Regions from separate parts of the Homo sapiens genome. Here regions 1, 2 and 4 are each linked to region 3. The links are contacts of gene promoters, found by promoter capture Hi-C in blood cells and fetal thymus (Javierre and others, 2016). All regions are on one chromosome and are shown on one strand. The core of a region is centred on a gene start or on the middle of the fragment in contact, and the rest is flanking DNA. Distances in the headings are between cores, read along the strand shown.

The links. The method cuts DNA at HindIII sites, captures the fragments that hold promoters and counts their contacts. A CHiCAGO score of 5 or more calls a contact.
Region 1: a contact is called between the fragment with the promoter of NCR1 here and the fragment with the promoter of SIGLEC14 in region 3, in 1 of 17 cell types (total CD4 T cells). The highest score is 7.7, in total CD4 T cells.
Region 2: a contact is called between the fragment with the promoter of KIR3DL3 here and the fragment with the promoter of SIGLEC14 in region 3, in 2 of 17 cell types (total CD4 T cells and non-activated CD4 T cells). The highest score is 7.2, in total CD4 T cells.
Region 4: a contact is called between a fragment that was not itself captured here and the fragment with the promoter of SIGLEC14 in region 3, in 1 of 17 cell types (total CD4 T cells). The highest score is 5.1, in total CD4 T cells.

What each region holds. Positions count from the first base shown.
Region 1 is chr19:54,904,809-54,910,117 of GRCh38, reverse strand. It overlaps NCR1 (natural cytotoxicity triggering receptor 1), which reads right to left and starts at 3,970. Exons shown (of 7, transcript NM_004829.7): 1 at 3,897-3,970; 2 at 3,784-3,819; 3 at 3,311-3,595; 4 at 595-873; 5 at 53-100. The coding sequence starts at 3,930. The HindIII fragment of the contact is 17,616 bases long and covers 1-5,309 here.
Region 2 is chr19:54,722,493-54,727,606 of GRCh38, reverse strand. It overlaps KIR3DL3 (killer cell immunoglobulin like receptor, three Ig domains and long cytoplasmic tail 3), which reads right to left and starts at 3,165. Exons shown (of 8, transcript NM_153443.5): 1 at 3,077-3,165; 2 at 2,325-2,360; 3 at 1,270-1,554. The coding sequence starts at 3,110. The HindIII fragment of the contact is 6,556 bases long and covers 2,172-5,114 here.
Region 3 is chr19:51,642,646-51,648,074 of GRCh38, reverse strand. It overlaps SIGLEC14 (sialic acid binding Ig like lectin 14), which reads left to right and starts at 1,250. Exons shown (of 7, transcript NM_001098612.3): 1 at 1,250-1,352; 2 at 1,435-1,818; 3 at 2,015-2,293; 4 at 2,545-2,598; 5 at 4,039-4,296; 6 at 4,403-4,538; 7 at 4,678-5,429. The coding sequence starts at 1,316. The coding sequence ends at 4,720. The HindIII fragment of the contact is 8,795 bases long and covers 1-5,429 here.
Region 4 is chr19:56,338,197-56,343,544 of GRCh38, reverse strand. ZSCAN5A-AS1 (ZSCAN5A antisense RNA 1) reads right to left here. Exons shown (of 3, transcript NR_186830.1): 2 at 5,040-5,240; 3 at 2,343-2,759. It also overlaps a transcript of ZSCAN5A not described here, the pseudogene VN2R18P and the pseudogene NDUFAF1P1. Among named protein-coding and RNA genes, the nearest start is that of ZSCAN5A, 26 kb to the right of the region's middle. The HindIII fragment of the contact is 1,625 bases long and covers 2,978-4,602 here.

The sequences.
Region 1 (5,309 bases), core at 2,721-5,220, 3.3 Mb before region 3:
TCACTGGGAGGCTCTGATCGCTCGTCTGAGCTTAGAAGGACCAGTTACTCACCAGGAAAGGTGGGGTCTTCAGGTGCAAGGCTGGTGTTCTCAATGTCGCCTGGAAAAGGAGATAAAGAAAAAAAAGTAAGGGTTTTTGGTTTCCTCCGGTCTTGCCATTCTTTTTTTTTTTTTTTTTTTTTTGAGATGGAGTCTTGCTCTGTCGCCCAGGTTGCAGTGCGGTGGTATGATCTCGGTTCACTACAACCCCCGCCTCCCGGGTTCAAGCGATTCTCCTGCCTCAGCCTCCTGAGTAGCTGGGACTACAGGTGTCCGCCACTGCGTCTGGCTAATTTCTGTATTTTTAGTAGAGACGGGGTTTCACCGTCTTGGCCAGGCTGGTCTCGAACTCCTGACCTTGTGATCCACCCGCCTTACCATTCCTTTCTCTGTTCCCTCCTCCTTCCTGCTTCTGGTGTTCTTCCTCACATGACCAACCAGGCACCCAGGAAGTGGACGTCCCTTGGACACCCTCCCCATCACTCTCTGGGGATCCCTCAGGGCTCCAGGTAGCACATGGCGGCGAAGGGTGTGGGGAATTGAGCATTTCCTCACCTGTGACCAGGAGCTTCACTGGCTCACTGGGGAAAGACCAGGCATGGTTGTTATAGGAGCCAAAACATCGGTATGTCCCTCTGTGGGCTGTGGTCACAGGGCCCAGGGGGAACTCCGCCTGGACCTTCCCGTATCCGCGCTGTACGTGGCTGGATCTTCCCTCCTTGAGCAGTAAGAACATGCTTGTTGCAGTGTCTAGACGGCAGTAGAAGGTCACCTTCTCTCCCGAGATCACTTCGGGTCCAGGATGAACCGAGAGGGTGGGTGTGTCATACATTTCTATGAGAGAAGGTGGGGCCACCACACCAGAAACTCAGTGATGAGCAGCCAGCTATTTTTTTTTTTCTTTCTTTAGAGATGGAGTCTCTCTCTGTCGCCCAGGCTGGAGTGCAGTGACACGATCTTGGCTCACTGCAACCTCCGCCTCCCGGGTTCAAGCGTTTCTCCTGCCTCACCCTCCCAAGTAGCTGGGACTACAGGGGCCTGCCACCATGCCTGGCAGCCAGCTTTTTTTTTTTTTTTTAATTATTATTTTGGTCAAATACACACAATAGAAGATTTACCGTCTAAAACCATTTTTAAAAATGATACAGGGTCTTGCTCTGTTTCCCAGGCTGGAGCGCCGTGGCACTATCTTTGCTTACTGAAGCCTCGACCTCCTGGGTCAGGAGTTTGAGACCAGCCTGGTCAACATGGTGAAACCCCGTCTCTACTAAAAATGCAAAAATTAGCCGGGTGTGGTGGCACATGCCTGTAATCTCAACTACTTGGGAGGCTGAGGCAGGAGAATTGAGGCTGAGGCAGAGGTTGCAGTGAGCTGAGATTGTACCACTGCACTGCAGCGAGACTGTCTCAAAAAAAAAAAAAAAAGCCCCGGCCAGCCGCCCCGTCCGGGAGGTTGGGGGGCAGCCCCCGCCCGGCCACTGCCCCGTCTGGGAGGTGGGGGGGCGCCTCTGCCCGGCCGCCCCGTCTGGGAAGTGAGGAGCCCCTCTGCCCGGCCGCCACCCCGTCTGGGAGGTGTACCCAACAGCTCATTGAGAACGGGCCATGATGACGATGGCGGTTTTGTCGAATAGAAAAAGGGGAAATGTGGGGAAAAGAAAGAGAGATCAGATTGTTACTGTGTCTGTGTAGAAAGAAGTAGACATAGGAGACTCCATTTTGTTCTGTACTAAGACAAATTCTTCTGCTTTGGGATGCTGTTAATCTATGACCTTACCCCCAACCCCGTGCTCTCTGAAACATGTGCTGTGTCCACTCAGGGTTAAATGGATTAAGGGCGGTGCAAGATGTGCTTTGTTAAACAGATGCTTGAAGGCAGCATGCTCCTTAAGAGTCATCACCACTCCCTAATCTCAAGTACCCAGGGACACAAACACTGCGGAAGGCCGCAGGGACCTCTGCCTAGGAAAGCCAGAGACCTTTGTTCACATGTTTATCTGCTGACCTTCTCTCCACTATTGTCCTATGACCCTGCCAAATCCCCCTCTCCGAGAAACACCCAAGAATGATCAATAAATACTAAAAAAATTAAAAAAAAAAGAATAAATGAGTAGCTGTGTTCCCCTGCCAGAACCTCCAAACAAGGTCCAAAGACCCTGAGCAAATGAAAAGGCACAGACAAAAAATATATATATTTCAACACAAGTATATGACACAGAATATAGAAATAACTTTTCCTAATCAATCAAAATATAAGCAACCCAATTTAAAAATAGGCAAAAGATTTAAATAGACATTTCACAAAAGAAGATATTTGAATGGACATGAAATACTGTTGTGAGCTGCATAATGACATTTTGGCCAACAATGTACCACATATATGATGGTGGTCCCATAAGATTATAATGAAACTGAAAAATTCCTATTGCCTGATGACATCATAGCCTTCCTAGCACAAAGTATTGCTCATGTGTTTTTGGTGTTGCTGGTATAAACAAACCTAATTGTATAGCACATACAATTATGTATGTATATGTAACTATGTATAATACTTGATAATAATAATAAACAACCATATTGTTAAAAAAAAAAAAAAGCTAATTTTTTTTTTTTTTTAGAAAACCACCACCTGGCTGGGTGTGATGGCTCACACCTGTAATCCCAGCACTTTGGGAGGGTGAGGCGGGCGGATCATCTGAGGTCAGGAGTTCGACACCACCCTGGCCAACATGGTGAAACCCCATCTCTACTAAAAATACAAAATGTGGCGTAGTGGTGGGTGCCTGTGATCCCAGCTACTTGGGAAGCTGAGGCTGGAGAATCACTTGAACCCAGGAGGTGGAGGTTGCAGTGACTGGAGATTGCACCACTGCACTCCAGCCTGGGTGACAAGAGCGAAACTCCGTCTCAAAACAGATAAAAAAAAAAAAAACCCACCACCTGTGATGGGTGAGGGAAGCAAAGTGTAAGCCACTGCGCCTGGCCCACAGGCATTGTTTTTGAGGACATTCCTCAGTCATACCCCTGCATACAAATATCTATCTCAGAATCTGTGTCATGGAGAAACTGACTGAGGACACATCTGCTCCTAGGACGTAGAGACACGGTCTGCAGACAACCCCTTGTAGGCAAGGATTGTGATGGGGATCACCCCTCCTTCCAGCCTCCTACCGAGACAAGCAGTGTCTGAGTGGGGCTTGGAAGAGTTCATAGATGATGCTGCATCCCGGATGCAGACTGAGATCACTCTCCAGTTAGAGAACCGGACAGTTACCTGTTACCACCAGATCCAGCAAGTTGCTGGGCTCTGACCAGAGCTCCCCAACCCGATAGATGCAGCTGTATTGCCCTGCCATGCGGGAGTTCATGTCCGGGATGTAGAATTGGACTTTGTTAATCCGCTCAGGGGGTTTTGGTCTGTCCACGGCAAAAAGGCTTCCTTCAAAGTGCAGCTGGTATTCAACAGCCCCATAATTTCCCTGGCAACAGATGGTCACTTGCTTTTCCTTTGGAACCATGAAATGGGGCTCGGCCCAGATGAACGGTTTTGGGAGAGTCTCTGGAAGGGAATCAGAGGCTGGAGTTCCAGCGGAGCCCCCTCCCCCCAACCTTAGGCTCCACCCAGCTGCTGGCCCCAAGCTCTCCTGGGAAGCCAGCACCCTGTCCCCTCACCCCAGCCGTGCTTGGGTGGAAGGAGCTTGGCCTGAATCCGGAAGAGTGACCCTGGGCTTTGAAGGAAGGACTCACGCTGCTGGGCGCTGATCCTCTGACTCAGACACAGCCCTGGAAGACGGGAGTAATGAGACCTGTTGCCTCCCAGGCACACCGTGATCCCATTCCCCTTCCACGCCAGAACTCACCGACGCAGAGCAGGGCAGGGAGTGTGGAAGACATCGCTCAGATTCTGCCGGCCTAGTGCTGAGCAGTGGGGACTGAGCCGGGCGGGCCAGGGAGATAGATACACAGGAAGTGGTGGGTGAGCACCAGCGCCCATCACCAGAGCGCTTTCACGTTGACTGCTTTCATCAGAACGTTCACAACTCCCCTCCGCCTCTGACCATGAGCTTACAGAAAGGCCGTGGTCCCTCTGACACATCTGTGGTCTAGCCAGCAACTCTGACAATTGTCTGCTCAGCCCAAAATGCATTTCTGGGTCAACTTCTCAATTCTGCAATGTGGAGGTCGTACCCAGAGCTGACTGTGGGAAGTTGTGCCCAATCATGCCCAGAGGAAACCCCCTGAGAATCGTATAAAAACATAGGGAGTTTCACAGTGAGATACTGGAACAGGAATTAAAAGAAATTACAGAATGTGTAAACAAAAACTCAGTTGTATTTAAGAAAACCCAGTTCCCCCCGAGGAAGAGAAAGAGGTGGAGTCCTTTAAACATGAACTGCCTGTTTTTCTGTCTGTGGCTAGTGAGCCTTATCTCTCCCTTTCCCAGGCATTGTGAAGACCCTGTTTCTCTTGCCGTGCGGCTGCAAGGTCACTAGACAGGATAACCTCAAGTCGTAAAACATATTTTTCTTGAAAAGTAAGGAATAATGTGATGCATGTCTCAATTGAATAACTGCCTTTGTTTCTTGCTTCTGTAATATGCTTCCCCCTGCACAGATCTCCCCCAACCCCACAAAATGCTTAAAAGGTAACCGGACTCTCTGTTCGAGCCTCAGTCTTTTTGGATGTTAATCTGACTGGGGCCGGTGCACCTAAATAATAATAATAATAATAAATCCTCCTCAACCCCTCGGTCTCTCTGATTCCTAAATTATCCCTCAACAATACCATCTCACACCAGTCAGAATGGCCATTACTGAAAAGCCAGAAATTAACAGATGCTGGTGAGATTGTGGAGCAAAGGGGACACTTATACACTGTTGGTGGGTGTAAATTAGTTCAGCCACTGTGGAAAGCAGTTTGGTTTGGAGATATTTCAGAGAACTACAAACAGAGTTACCATTCAGCCCAGCAATCCCATCGCTGGGTATATAGCCAAAGGAAAATAAATCATTCTACCAAAAAGACACATGCACTTGTATGTTCATTGCAGCAGGATTCACAATAGTGAAGACATGGAATCCACCCAGGTCCCATCAGAGGTGGACTGGATAAAGACAATGTGATATGTATACACCACAGAACGCTATACAGCCTTGAAAAATCACAAGATTATGTCCTTTGCAGCAACATGGATGCAGCTAGAGGCCATTATCCTAAGCGAGTTAACACAGAAACAGAAAACCAAATACTGGCCAGACACGGTGGCTCAGGCC
Region 2 (5,114 bases), core at 1,916-4,415, 3.1 Mb before region 3:
GAAGAGAGGTTGTGAGTTCAGAAGGCGTCTCCCTTTCTCATCCCATTCATGGGACCTGAAATAAGTGAGGCTTCCCCTCCATGGTGTCTATCTCTCTCCTTCCTGTCTGTGTCTCCGTGTTCTTTTGTGCCCATAACCCCTGTTGCAGGTCCCTCCATCTGTCTCCCTCCCTCTTCCCTGTCTCTCTGTCTCTAGTAGCCCTGATTCCCTTCCCACTGTGCTCAGTGTCACCTCTTAGGCTGTTGTATCTGTTTCCCACTAATCTCTTTCCTGGTGTTTATGTGGGGGTGGAAGAGGAACCATGACAGGCTGCATGTCCAGGCTCTTAGCAGCCTGAATCAATCTCTTTTGGACAGATTGGAAAGGCCGGCAGGAGGTACGAACTCATCAGTAAGGCAGGCATCAGTGTCCCTGTTCCTGATGGGGATTGGGAGCCTCTCCTTTCATGTCTGTGCCTTCTCCATGGCCCCAGCTTCCATAGGGTGGCCCCTGGTGCTGGTTCCAGGAGCATCAACCCCTCCCTATGTGGATCGAGCCTGGTGGTAGCATCAGTATCCCACCCATGCTAAAATCAGTGTAGCCAACCTTCTCCTTGTTTGGTTTCTTAACCTGTGCTTCACCTGGGTTCCTGTGTTGGTTTCCTGTTGCTGCTGGAGAAAATTGTCACAAACATGGGGCAGGAGAGAATACAATGACCTCTTCCACTTCTGGAGAACAGAAATCGGACCCAGTTCTCTCTGGGCTAAAATCAAGGCATCTGCAGGGCTGTGTTTCCTCTGGAGACTCAGGGAAGAATCAGTTCCCTTGACTTCTCCAGCCCTTAGAGGCCACCTGCCTTTGTGGCTCATGGCCTTCCCCCATCTTCAAAGCCCGCTGTGGCTGATGGAGTCTCCCTCCCACGACGTTGCTCTAACCCCACTTTCCTCTTCCTCCTCCTCTCATGAGGACCCTTGTGATTACTCTGAGCACAGCAGGACAGTCCAGGCTGTCTCCCCATCGCAAGGTCAACTCATCAACAACCTGAGCTCCATCTTCCTCTTCAGTCCCCTGCCCTATAACATAAATAGTCACAGGGTTCATGGATTACCATGTAGCCATCACTGGGGACAATTATTCTTCCCACCACAGCAACTATTTCTCTGTACTGAATCCCCCTTTACCCCAAATACAGTCGGGGCCTGGATGATTGGACCCTGATGGACGCCCCCACCAGAAGCTCTGGGATTCAGGAGGTGGGACAGTGAGAAGCCCAGACAGAAAGCCTCTGACCTGTGACCATGATCACCACAGGGTTGCTGGGTGCCGACCACCCAGTGGGGGAGTGTGGGTGTGAACTGCAACATCTGTAGGTCCCTGCATGTGCTGGGGTCACAGGGCCCATGAGAAAGCTGTTCCGGAATATTCTGTTGTAGAGCTCAGGGACAGGCATCCCGTCTTCTTTGGACAGACTGAATTCATTAAACCCAAGACGAGAGCGACACTGAAGAGTCACATGTTGTCCTTCAGACACCACAGTGCCGGGCCAGGCAGAGAGGAAGGGCTTGTCCTGACCACCTGGGGGAGAAGGAGGCACCACCTTAGAGAGGAGGATGTGGAGCCGCCCCTCCCTCCCTGTGCTCAGAAGATTCTCCCATTTCCACGTTTCTAAGGCTCCTACCACACCTGGGTGCCCAGGGCTACAGGAAGGACCCATCCCGCATAGACATGGCGTCTCCCTACAGCAAGTGTCAGCTGAGAACTTTGAGCAGGTGCTGAAGAAGCGACTCTTACTAGATTTTAACACTGCAAAATTACTTACATAAAAGAACACAAGGTAGACACAGGATGGAGGGCATGATCAGCTAATGCATGAACCATAATAAACAACTGAGCCCCTATTAGAAGATCTGGAATGTCAGGGTCATGACTGTGGTTCCCCCACCTCTTAGGTAGAATGACAGCAGCCACATTGCAGCCCCTACCGTCATGGAAACGCTGGAGGGTGTGAGTTATGCTCTTGTCCTCAGAGGCCTGTTGTTCCTTGCACTGCTTCTCTCCCTTCCTCTGCCGGTGACACCACTTCCTCCCTGCACACCACTCCTTTGAGCACTTCAGTCTCCCCCTGGGTCCCCACAGACTCAGCCAAGGGAAAGAAAGGCCGGGGAGGGCTAGGACAGAACTGTGGCGAAGCTTCCCCTGGCTTCCTTTTCCTAGTTCATGAGAGATTCCCACATGGCTTCCCATGGTCAGCCCATCAGTCAACCCCCTGTGTCGCCTGCCTCCCGTTTCAGGAGCATCATCTTATGTGGGGAGATGACAACCTAAGGTTTGGGGGAAGGACTCACCCACATGTGGCCAGGGCCCCTCCAGCAAGAAGAACCCTGGAAAGAAAGATCATGATGGATGATCCATCTGTACATCACCTCCAGGCCCATATCTCCACTCCAGGCCCATATCTCCACCTCTAGGCCCATATCTCCACTCCAGGCCTATATCTCCACCTCCGTCCTATATCTCTACTCCAGGCCCATATCTCCACTCCAGGCCTATATCTCCACCTCCGTCCTATATCTCTACTCCAGGCCCATATCTACACTCCAGGCCCATATCTCCACCTCCAGGCCTGTATCTCCACCTCCAGGCCCGTGTCTCCATTCCAGGCCCATATCTGCACTCCAAGCCAACATCTCCACTCCAGGCCCGTATCTCTACTCCAGGCCCATATCTACAGTTCCAGGCCCATATCTCCACCTCCAGGCCCATATCTCCACTCTAGGCCCATATCTCCACCTCCAGGCCCGTATCTCAATTCCAGGTCCATATCTGCACTCCAAGCCAATATCTCCACTCCAGGCCCATATCTACAGTTCCAGGCCCATATCTCTACTCCAGGCCCATATCTCTACTTCAGGCCCATATCTACAGTTCCAGGCCCATATCTCCACTCCAGGCCCATATCTCCACCCCAGGCCCATATCTCCACTCCAGGCCTATATCTCCACTCCAGGCCCATATCTCCACTCCAGGCCCAGATCTCCACTCCAGGCCCAGATCTCCACCCCAGCGCTCCCTCCCTCGATTCCCTTCCAGGACTCACCAACACACGCCATGCTGACGACCATGAGCGACATGGTGCTGCCGGTGCAGACAGGCGGCTGCGCCCCAGCTCAGTTCAGCAGCACACAGGATGTTGTGAGGGGCTCATGCAGTTTACATGCTGACCACATCATGGGAGGATGACGTATGCAGGCTATTTCTACCTTGCATGAGGCCCAGTGGCTGTTTGGTCAAGAGCGGAACATGGCTTCCTGGAAATTGTTCCAACTAGAATTGACACCTTGCATCCTTCACTATAACCAACTCAAAACACGTCTCAGATCCAATCTCTCATACAGGAGATGACTGAATGCTTGGCTTACATTAAAGACTTTTGATGTATTTTTGTTGTTTTTATCTGAGATTCAAACTCTTCTTCATGTGCTATTTTCCCCAGGCTGTTCTTTGACTTCAGAGTTCAAGCAATCCTCCTGCCCCAGCATTTCTAGCAGCTGGCAGTATGTCACAATCTGCCACACCCAAGTCACAACTTTTAGAACTTTTTTTTTTTTTGAGACGCAATCTCACTTCGTCACCCAGTTTGGAATGCAGTGGTGAGACCTCGGCTCATTGCAGCCTCCACCTCCCAGGTTCACGCAATTCTCGTGCCTCAGCCTCCTAAGTAGCTGGATTTACAGGCACCCACCATCACGCCCACCTAATTTTTGTACTTTTAGTAGAGAGGAGGTTTCTCCATGTTGGCCAGGCTGGTCTTGAACTCCTAACCTCAAGTGATCTGTCTACTTCAGCCTCCCAAAGTGCTGAGATTACAGGTGTGAGCCACCATGCCTGGCCGGGACATTCTATATGTGTGCGTATGTGTGCGTTTATATACATATGGTTATACACACACACACACACACACACCCTAAGCACTCACATATATAGTTGTTTCAAATTTTAAAAAATATAAATTTTGTATTTTTCTTTCTTTTTCTCACATTTGTGTTTCTATGACACCATATACATATTGAATTTTATAGTTCTATTTTATTCTTTTGGATTGCAGTTTAATAGTCCATACATAACTTTATCAACATGTAATTATCCACTCTTTTTATCATGGACATTTGTGTTGTTTCCGGATTTTCTCTTTTATAACTCGGGCCTTGATAATCGTGTTTCTGTGTGATCCCTTGCATACATATGCTGAATTAATTAGACATATTTACCTAGGAATGAAATTATTGGTTTTGGGTGCAAGTTGGTGTTGAGCTTAACCAGGAAGTGCCAAAATATTTCCATCATGACCAAATGTGGCCTGGAAAGTTTTTTGGGGTCAATTTTCCTGTTTCTTCTAAGGAACAAAATTGATGTCACTGATTTTTCTGTCCTGTTTGTCATTTATGAATATACGTACATATGCACGTATATATTTGCTTGCCATTTTATGTTTTTCCTCGACGTTACTTTGGAATTAATTTGCTGATGTGTAGTATTTCTGCAAGCGAAAGTTACCTATTTACTCAGCTCTTCCTTCTTTTCTAACACAGACATTTGAGGCTTATTTTCCTTTAACACTGTTCTATCTGTATCCCCAGTCATTTGCCGAGATGTGTTTTCATTTTTAATTGATACAAAATATTTTCCACCTTTCTTTGAAATGTTTTTCTTCCACTCATTGTTTATTGCTATGTGTGTTTATTAATTTTAAAATATTTGATAATTTCCCCAGCATTTCCTTGTTGTACATTTATAATTTAATTCAACTGTTTCATCTATCATATTACCTATGATTCAGCATTTAAAAATTTATTTTGGTGAATGTTCCAGGGGTGCTAGACAAGTTTGTGGATTAGGAAGATTTGAGGTGGATGTTTTCTAAATGTCAGTTAAGAAAAAAATCATTCAAATGTTTTTCTTTATTTAAAAAAAATAGAGACGGGGTCTCACTATGGTGCCCAGGCTGGTCTCAAACTCCTGGCCTCAAGTGATCCTCCCATTTTGGCCTCCCAAAGTGCTAGGATTATTGAAATTATTAAATGTTTCATATCAACACCCAACCTTATGCACCCGCCGCCTACACAAATGTTTTTCAA
Region 3 (5,429 bases), core at 1-2,500:
TGGAGTGCAGTGGTGCGATCTCGGCTCACTGCAAGCTCCACCTCCCGGGTTACGCCGTCCTCCTGCCTCAGCCCCCCCAGTAGCTGGGACTACAGGCGCCCGCCACCACGCCCGGCTAATTTTTTGTATTTTTAGTAGAGACGGGGTTTCACCATGTTAGCCAGGACGGTCTTGATCTCCTGACCTCGTGATCCACCCGCCTCGGTCTCCCAAAGTGCTGGGATTACAGGCGTGAGCCACTGCGCCCGGCCTTCTTTTTTTACTGTTCTTCGTGGAGCAGGGGTATGCATAAGCAGTGTGCCCAGAGGAGCCCCCACTAGGATTTTTGACTTACCTTCTCATCCTAAGAGTTTATCCTTTGCTGTATCTCCAGCTCCTAAAACAGGGGGCCTGGTGCACCATAGGCGCCCATGAAGCATCAGTTGAATGAGTGAATTCTCGGGGCCAGACACTGTCCTAAGCACTTTACACATGAGACCTCACTGAATCCCCACACAGCAATTCTATTATTGTCTGCATTTTTCAGCTGAGCAAACTGAGGCACAGAGAGGGTAGGTAACTTTTGTAAAGTTCAACAGCCGGTAGGTGAGGGGTCTGGGTTCACACTTGGTATTCCATATCCTCAACGTTCACATTTCAAATGCCCGGCTCTCAAGCCTCATCTGGCTGTCAACATCAGGGATGGGGTCTGACGCTGCCTGGGACAAGGACAAGGATGAGATGAGGTTCCCAAATCCAACTGGTGGTGGGGACCACATCTCTCTTGACTGCTAAGGACCCGGTCATGTCCACCTGATGTGTTTGTCCCTGACAACTTGCCTTCCCTCTGGAAAGAGGAAAGTCTTCCCCACCTGAAACCCCCAGCGTGTGCTTCCCTCACCACAGCTCCTATCATGTCATAAAGGATTTATTCTCCCATCTCGCTGAGGGTCCCGAGGCCCTGACTCCCAGGGAGCTGGCCAAGTGGTGTTCTCCTTCCTATGTAGACAAAGGTGCATAAGGAAAGTGCTGCAGCTATGGGACCTGGTGACCTCAGGAGTCTAGACTTACAAGTCTGGACAAGCCCCTCTGGGGGCCTCAGTATCTTCACCATCGGCGTCCAGTGGGGGTGGGAGCAGAATGGCTTCCCAGCCCCAGCCTCACCCCAACAGCACGTGATGCCCAAGTTCCCCTTCTGTGCGCGTCCACAGCTCTCACTCACCCTCCGGCTTCCTGTCGGGGCTTTCTCAGCCCCACCCCACGTTTGGACATTTGGAGCATTTCCTTCCCTGACAGCCGGACCTGGGACTGGGCTGGGGCCCTGGCGGATGGAGACATGCTGCCCCTGCTGCTGCTGCCCCTGCTGTGGGGGGGTGAGTGAGCTGAGGGAGGAGGGACAGGCACAGGGGTGAGAAGGGGGGCTGGAGCTGCAGCTGAGCTTCTGTGTCCCCCCAGGGTCCCTGCAGGAGAAGCCAGTGTACGAGCTGCAAGTGCAGAAGTCGGTGACGGTGCAGGAGGGCCTGTGCGTCCTTGTGCCCTGCTCCTTCTCTTACCCCTGGAGATCCTGGTATTCCTCTCCCCCACTCTACGTCTACTGGTTCCGGGACGGGGAGATCCCATACTACGCTGAGGTTGTGGCCACAAACAACCCAGACAGAAGAGTGAAGCCAGAGACCCAGGGCCGATTCCGCCTCCTTGGGGATGTCCAGAAGAAGAACTGCTCCCTGAGCATCGGAGATGCCAGAATGGAGGACACGGGAAGCTATTTCTTCCGCGTGGAGAGAGGAAGGGATGTAAAATATAGCTACCAACAGAATAAGCTGAACTTGGAGGTGACAGGTATGGCAGGAACCCTAGGAGAGGACCCTGGGACGTGGAGACCCCCGTATGAGAACAGGGACAGGAGTTGGGCAGGGGCGGCTGGAGGAGGTGTAGGACTTGGGGCAGGTCGGGGCCTGAGGCCTGGCCACTCTCGGGGTCACACCTTACGTCCTCAAGCCCCTGGGGCCCAGGTATCTCCCTGTCTCCTCCTCAGCCCTGATAGAGAAACCCGACATCCACTTTCTGGAGCCTCTGGAGTCCGGCCGCCCCACAAGGCTGAGCTGCAGCCTTCCAGGATCCTGTGAAGCGGGACCACCTCTCACATTCTCCTGGACGGGGAATGCCCTCAGCCCCCTGGACCCCGAGACCACCCGCTCCTCGGAGCTCACCCTCACCCCCAGGCCCGAGGACCATGGCACCAACCTCACCTGTCAGGTGAAACGCCAAGGAGCTCAGGTGACCACGGAGAGAACTGTCCAGCTCAATGTCTCCTGTGAGTGGTGCTGGGGACACAGCTGAGTCCCCAAGGGCAGTGGGAGTGAGGGGGGTGTGTGTGTGTGTGTGTGTGTGTGTGTAGAAGAGAGAGAGAGAAAGAGAATGATAACCAGGGAAAACTCGTGTGTGGGCAGGAAGGACAGCGGTCCCCACCTGGTGGGTTTCTGTGGCCCCTCCTTGGGTCCCTCCCGGGACCACGCCCATCCCTCTTGTCACCTCTGAAGCTGGTGCTGTATCTTTCTATCCCAGATGCTCCACAGAACCTCGCCATCAGCATCTTCTTCAGAAATGGCACAGGCACAGGTAGGAAAGACCCTCTTCCCTCTGGGGCTGTGATGGGAGCCTTCTATTAGCTCAGGGTTCAGCATTGGGAGAGGAGACCCTCCCTCACCCCTCAGCCCCTGGGTCTGGGTCCTTCCTGCTCCCAACCCCCCAATCCCAGTCACTAAGATCTTGCACGAACAGACCTAGTATTTCTTTTGGCTTCTCCCTTTTCTCTGCTCTCTTTTTCAGATTTATTTTTTCATTGTGAGAAAATACACATAGCACAAAATTTGTCATCTTAGCCATTTTAAAGAGTACAGTTCAGCAGTGTTAAATGTGTTCACATTGTTGCAAAACCAAACTGCAGAGCTCCTTTTATCTGGCAAAACTGAAACTTTGTACCCACTGAACAGCGACTTTCCACTTCCCCCTCCTGCCACCGAGCAGTCACCATTCTACTTTTCTGTCTCTGTGAGTTTGAGTACTCAGGACACGCTGTTCCCTTTTCTTGAATTTCTGCCTGCTCCGATGTCCTCTGATGCATGCCCTGCTTCATCTCTAACTGATCGTCCTTTTTGGGAGCCTTCGACTTTCCCACCTCCCACAGCTCTGTCCCAGAACCCAGTTCTTCCCCTCCACATTCCTGAGTAATCCGATCTCTCCTTGACCCTGTCCTGATGCCTCCCACAACTTTATATCCAGCCCTTTCTCTGAGGCACAGATCTGCACATTTAGCCACCTCCCTCGGATGCTTCTCGGCTCCTCCTTCCCTGTTGATCCCAGGGCTGTTCTGGACATCGCTGTAGACAGCACCCTTTCTCATCAGCTGTTTCATGAGTCCGCAAGTCTTAACACCTTTACTTCACCAATCATCACTTCCCTCCTCATCCCCTTGGTTCCAGGCCCAGCTCAAGTCTCGTGCTCAACCCTGGCCCATTGCCCCAGCCTCCTCCCAGCCTCCCTGCCTCCTATCCCACTTCTCTCCAGTCCGGGACCTACTTGGCTCCAGCAGGATCTTTCTAGATCCAGTGCTAACTCTGTTTCCCTTGCTTATAGCCCCCTCTTGCTTTCCAGGATAAAGCCCAAGGCCCTCAATCTGGCACCCAATGCTCCAAAAGATCTGAGCCTGCTTCTACCTCCATTATCGTGTCTTGGGAGCTCTGGGTCCTCCCTGACAGGTTGCGGATCTAGGAGCCTCTTTCCTCGTCTGCCTGTCTCAGTTCTTGGCACGTCTGCACCTGAGCTGCCCATCCACTTCTCCTTAATGTGAGAACTCCTCCTCATCTGTCTTTTCTCAGCTCAGCCACCTTCTTTCTGGTAGCCTGACCTGATCACCAAGTCCTCATCCTTTCACCCATGACTAGCCCATTCTCAGCACTCACCACACAGTCTTGTCTTTCTTCTTGCAGCTCAGTGGGAGGAATGAGGGAGAATTGGGCCTCCCAGCTCCACTCACCTGGCTGTGCTTCTCTTTCCCAGCCCTGCGGATCCTGAGCAATGGCATGTCGGTGCCCATCCAGGAGGGCCAGTCCCTGTTCCTCGCCTGCACAGTTGACAGCAACCCCCCTGCCTCACTGAGCTGGTTCCGGGAGGGAAAAGCCCTCAATCCTTCCCAGACCTCAATGTCTGGGACCCTGGAGCTGCCTAACATAGGAGCTAGAGAGGGAGGGGAATTCACCTGCCGGGTTCAGCATCCGCTGGGCTCCCAGCACCTGTCCTTCATCCTTTCTGTGCAGAGTGAGTTGCAGGACAGGTGCTGAGGGTAGACAGCCCGGTGAGGTATTCAGGTTGGTGGGAGGGACTGAGGCCTGGTAACAGCACCTTACCTTCTCCTTTCTCCCAGGAAGCTCCTCTTCCTGCATATGTGTAACTGAGAAACAGCAGGGCTCCTGGCCCCTCGTCCTCACCCTGATCAGGGGGGCTCTCATGGGGGCTGGCTTCCTCCTCACCTATGGCCTCACCTGGATCTACTATACCAGGTGAGCCGGACTGCCTGTCTCCAGGAAGCTCCTGAGTTCCAGGTGGGGCTGAGCTGTCCTGCCCCAGGACAGCTCAGCCCCACCTGGAATTAGAACTGAAGTGGCTGGTGCTGATCTGAGGCCCATGTTGGCTCTGCAGGTGTGGAGGCCCCCAGCAGAGCAGGGCTGAGAGGCCTGGCTGAGCCCCTCCCGCTCAAGACAGAACTGAGGTGTGGACACTTAGCCCTGTGGGACACATGCAGGACATCACTGTCAGCTTCTTTCTGGAAGCTCACATCCCACTGACTACCCCTCTTTTCCTTCCTGCCCCATACCCCTTCTACTTATTCCCCTCTGCTTGTGAGTCTTGCCCCACCACACCTGCATCCCCATCTGCACCCCATCCCCTCTCCACCTGCCCTTCTCTTCCCTCTCCATCCACCATCTCCAGCCCTGTGAAGGGAATGTACTTTCGGTCTTATACCCCCATTACCCATTACCCAAAAGTTACCTTTTTTTTTTTTTTTTTTTTTTGAGACAGAGTCTCACTCTGTTGCACAGGCTGGAGTTCAGTGGCACAATCTCCGTTCACTGCAACCTCCACCTCTGGGGTTCAAGCAATTCTCCTGCCTCAGCCTCCCTAGTAGCTGGGATTACAGGTGCCTGCCACCACATCCAGTTAATTTTTTTTTTTTGTATGTTAGTAGAGATGGGGTTTTACCATGTTGGCCAGGTCTCGAACTCCTGACCTCAAGCAATCCACTGCATTGGCCTCCCAAAGTGCTGGCATTACAGGTATGAGCCACCGTGCCTGGCTGCCAAAAGTTACCTTCTTAACACTTGAATTTCTGGTCTCCTCAGCTTCCCTATCCATATAGGCACAGAGAGGCAGCATTTGTTTTCCAGTTAAAA
Region 4 (5,348 bases), core at 2,541-5,040, 4.7 Mb before region 3:
TGAGCCGTCAATGAAAATACACTTAGAGCAGCTTCTGGCATTTGGTAGAATTGGGCTATTTGCTGAAGCTTCTTGGTAGCCCTTGGTAGCCCAGGAAGAAACTTACATTTTGATTTTTTCGTACCATGGCTTTGGTTCACAAATTGCTGCATGGCACTTATATTCTCAGAAAATGCTCTAAGACAACTGCTACCTTGCATTCATTTTTGGGTATTCACTTTGCACACCACTCCAGTAGTCTTCAGAAACTAGTGGCTTCTCCTGGCAAAGCCTCCTCACAGAGGAATACTGAAGGGGGTTGCCAAGGACATCACCAGAAAGAAGTTGCTTTGGATATAACTTCTCCTGAGGAGAAACCTGAAGTTAGTTTCAATAAAGCAATTAGAGATGAAATAAAGGACCATTTTAGGCATTTGAAGGATGAAATTGTGGATCATTGGATAGGACCCGAAGGCCGCCCTCTGCATGAGGTCTTGCTGGAACAAGCCAAGGTTGTCTGACAGTTCTGGGGGAAAGAAGACTTGGATAAGTAGATAGTGACTTCTGAAAAGACGATTGGAGGCAGAAGTGAAGTATTTTTGAAAATGGGCAAGAATAACCAAAGTGCACTGCTATATGGAACTCTGAGCTCTGAGGTGCCTCAGGATGGGGAGACTACCTGAAGTGGGTACTGTGCAATGATATCCAGGATTCCAGGGGGTGCTTTTGAGAGGAAGATGTCTTAGGAAAATGTCTTATGATTGGTCCCAGTTCAGTACTCTGTATCTCCGTGTATGTGGGGATGGTTGGCCTTGGATGATGAATATCAGGGAGGACACAGATATAATCCAGAGGAAAAACAGATGTATAGTTACTTCATGTTCACCCGTGGGGACTCCTACTGGCAGGAGGTCAAGATCCCTTTTTCCAAATTTTTTTCCCTAATCAAGGAAGAGTGCAGGATGTTCAGAGTCAGCTTCTGCTTGACAAGATCTCTTCTATAGCATTCACCTTGGCTGATAAAGTGGGTGGTCCATTCTTCCTGGAGATAGATTTTATTGGAGTGCTTACTGTTCCAGCCCACACAGAATTTGCCTATGAAAATTCTCCAGAGCTTAACCCAAGAATTTAAAAATAAAGATCATGTGGTAGTTTTCTTTTACTAAACTAAGGGTACTAGTATCTACAATGATATAAACAAAATAAAATATTTATTTAAGGGCATCCCCCAAAAAAAAGAAAGAGGTTTTTTTTTTGTAAGACAGCTTAAAGAGAAATAATTTTATATGAGAAAGAATCTTGTATGGTAAATTTAGTCCTAGAATAAAATGACTAGTTGTTTAAGAAAAAGTGATATTTAGAACAAACCAGAAAATCCAAGCATGTCATGAATGGTCTGTATAAGTCACTATAAGAAGATTATTAAATAAGCAAATCAAAAACTTTTATGTGATTAAGTTGTCTATAAAGAGAAATGATAGTAGTGTTTCTGTAGATTGGGTTTGATGTAAGAAAACACTTATACACTAAAGAATTGGTTAGAACAATGAAATTTTCTTAAGGGGTTGATTTACTCAATAAATTATAAGATATTTTATTTTTTAATTTTTAACCCAAAATTCAACTTTTATTGCATCTCACGGGTTTTGGTTTTCTCTCCCTTTTTAAAAGGCACAAAATAGTAACACTCTCCTTCAACTCATTTTCAGGTCATATAAGTTTGTTTTCCTTGGGTTCCAGTTTTTTGTTGTTGTTGTTGCCTGATGCTAACAGTGTTTTCTCAAAGGTCTAAAGGAAATGTTTCCTTTGAACATAATATTCTGTGCACTGCAGAAGGGTTTTTTTTTTTTTTTTTTTTTTTTTGCCTTTTGGTAACCTGCCTAGAAGATTTTATGTTTTATTGCTTAGAAAAAACTGAGGTTAAAAAAATTTTTAATGAAGGTTATTACATTTGTTATCTTCCTGTATGTGCTTTTAAAGTCCTTGTGACATTGAGTTACAGGGCCTTGACTCCTGGGTCTAAAAATGACACCAAGCCCTACTAAATTTTAAATACTGAGAGCTTATATTGAATATATTGTATATATTTCAACCTTGGAGAATCTGACAATTATTTGTCTTGGGGTTGCTCTTCTCGAGGAGTATCTTAGTGGTGTTCTCTGTATTACCTGAATTTGAATGTTGGCCTGTCTTGCTAGGTTGGGGAAGTTCTCCTGGATAATATCCTGAAATGTGTTTTCCAACTTGGTTCCATTCTCCCTGTCACTTTCAGGTACACCAATCAACTGTAGTTCGGTCTTTTCACATAGTCTCATATTTCTTGGAGGCTTTGTTAGTTCCTTTTCATTCTTTTTTCTCTAATCTTTTCTTCATGCCTTATTTTAGTAAGTTGATCTTCAATCTCTGATATCGTTTCTTTTGCGTGATCAATTTGGCTATTGATACTTGTGTATGACAAATGATGGCAACTCCTCTCCAGCAAGGGCACAAAACTGGACGGAGAATGAGATTGATGAATTGACAGAAGTAGGCAGATTTGCCCTGAGGGGTTCCCAGCTTGAAGGGATCCAAGATATTTCCCTTTCACAAGACAATCCCATTCTGTCAATGAATTAATCTGTTGGAGTTTGCTGGAGGTCCACACCAGACCCTGTTCACAAGAAGATCTTTTCACTTCCCTCTTCTCCTGCAAGGGAAGACTTTAAGAGACCTGAATTGACATGGCAAGGTGGTCTCATTTTCAACTCTCAAGCACAAAGTCTTTCTTCTCTTTGGTTTGCCTGCCAAAATGAAAATTCGAGGTTACCAAAAGCTTCAGTTCCAGTATATCTCCTTCTTATTCCACAGAAATTGTAGTTCATGGATATGAAGGCTCTAACAGCTAAGTATAATTTTGCCATCATGAAAAAGCCAATGAGAAGCCAATAAAAACAGGATTTCAGAAACACATAAGTACCTCCATTTCCAACTATGTGTCAAAAGCTTTCCTGATTAAGCTTGTTTGTTTGAGATTTCTCTAGCTGTAGCCAAAAATATCCTAAATTATTATCATTAGTATTCCTTTCATGACATTGATGTGACCTGCTACCCTGACTCATACTAAGAGAAGAATCAAGAGAATTGTGAAAAGGAAAAGTGGTTTTGAACTTCGTTCTCCTGGAGATCCGACAATCTAACCTTAGAACTCTGCTTCCTCCAGTTTTCTCATTCCGTCTGCAGTGAGAGCTGCCCTGCTGGCTCCACTGCTACTTTGAATGCAGGCACTGCCTTGAGAGACATTTTGCTGACAGAAAGATGATAGGGGGGCTTTCAAATGATTCCTTCTGAAAGTTGACATTCAACTCATGTTTACTCTTTGGGTAACTTTATCCTGCAAATTCTGAGAGAACACCATCCTTCTAGGTCCAGTTGGCCACAGAACAGGTTGCATGAGTCTCCATAGCAAAATGGAAATCCAAATGGAATCCAATTTCCATTTGGATTTCCATTTTGCACAAAGTGAGTTTTCTCTGTCCATTTTGGGTTTGGATGGAGGAGGGGAAAAATGCTCAGACTTTCCCCAAGACAGTAGTATCAGACAATCCCCAGGAACAGATTGGAAGGGTCAGTGTGGGCAGGTGTTGAGTTCTCTAAGTCATCTAGAGCAAGGGCAGGCAAATCTTGGCCCACAGGCTAAATATGGCTGCAATTCCTCCTTTACATATTGCTAAATACGGCTACAACCGCTCCTTCACATATTGCTAAATGCGGCTACAACCGCTCCTTCACATATTGCTAAATGCGGCTACAACCGCTCCTTCACATATTGCTAAATGCGGCTACAGCCGCTCCTTCACATATTGCTAAATGCGGCTACAGCCGCTCCTTCACATATTGCTAAATGCGGCTACAGCCGCTCCTTCACATATTGCTAAATGCGGCTACAGCCGCTCCTTCACATATTGCTAAATGCGGCTACAGCCGCTCCTTCACATATTGCTAAATGCGGCTACAGCCGCTCCTTCACATATTGCTAAATGCGGCTACAGCCGCTCCTTCACATATTGCTAAATGCGGCTACAGCCGCTCCTTCACATATTGCTAAATGCGGCTACAGCCGCTCCTTCACATATTGCTAAATGCGGCTACAGCCGCTCCTTCACATATTGCTAAATGCGGCTACAGCCGCTCCTTCACATATTGCTAAATGCGGCTACAGCCGCTCCTTCACATATTGCTAAATGCGGCTACAGCCGCTCCTTCACATATTGCTAAATGCGGCTACAGCCGCTCCTTCGCATATTGCTAAATATGGCTACAGCTGCTCCTTTGCATATTGCTAAATACGGCTACAACTGCTCCTTTGCATATTGCTTACAGTGGCTTTCAATCTGCAAGAGAAGACTTGAATAGTTGCCACAGACACCTTCTGGTTTGCAAACTGTAAATATTTATTACCCTTTACAGAAAAGGTTTGCTGTCATATGTCTCACAAATCCAGTGCAGTCTGTAATTAGTTACAATGAAAAGATGACAATGCCCAGGTCACATTGTTCCTAAGGCCTGTTCTGTATTTCTCCCCATTTAGAATGAATTCCCTGCAGGCATTTTTGCACTCCAAATACATTACGTCACTGTCAAGCTTTCTCCTTCCATATATGCTTTGAACCCTGGGAACAGGCCACCTTTTCAGTTCAGTTCACAGTGGCTGTGTCTTCTGCTTCAGCCAAAACTTTCACTGTGGTCATGGCCTTCCAAGCTACAAGGCCAGCTAGCAGGATGGGAAAGCTACAAGGCCAGCCAGGACCCAAGGTCCTGTTGGGTACCCTAAAATCTCATTCTGTTGTCACCTTTGCCCCCTCATCCAAGTGACCATCTCTGGAATCTAGTTGGAAACATCTCCTTCCTCCCTAGACAAAGACCCATAGTCCTGGTATAATCATCATCCAGTGTAATGGGGGCTCTATCACTGTTTTCTACTGTGTCTTGAGCTATTTGGGCTTCTTGGTTCTGGGGACCTTTGCTGTAGTCTTCCTGGAAAGTAACCCGCCTGACATCTTCAATGAAACCAAATGTCTCACCTTCAGCATGTTGGTGTTCTGCAGTATCTGGGTGGCTTTCCTCCTGAGTTATAGTAGCACTCAGGGAAAGGCCATGGTGGCTGTGGAGATTGTCTCCATCTTGACCTCCAGTACTGGGTTACATGGATGCATCTTGCTCCCAATTGCTACGTGATTCTCCTTCACCCAGAAAGGAACAGTCTTCAATGCCTAAAGAAGAAGCTGAGAAACCATAAACAGAAGGACTATACTATATTTAGATTAAGAGGAGGGACTATAATGCTTATTAGTGGTAGAGAATTTGTAAGCTAATTGTGTAAAGTGCTCCTG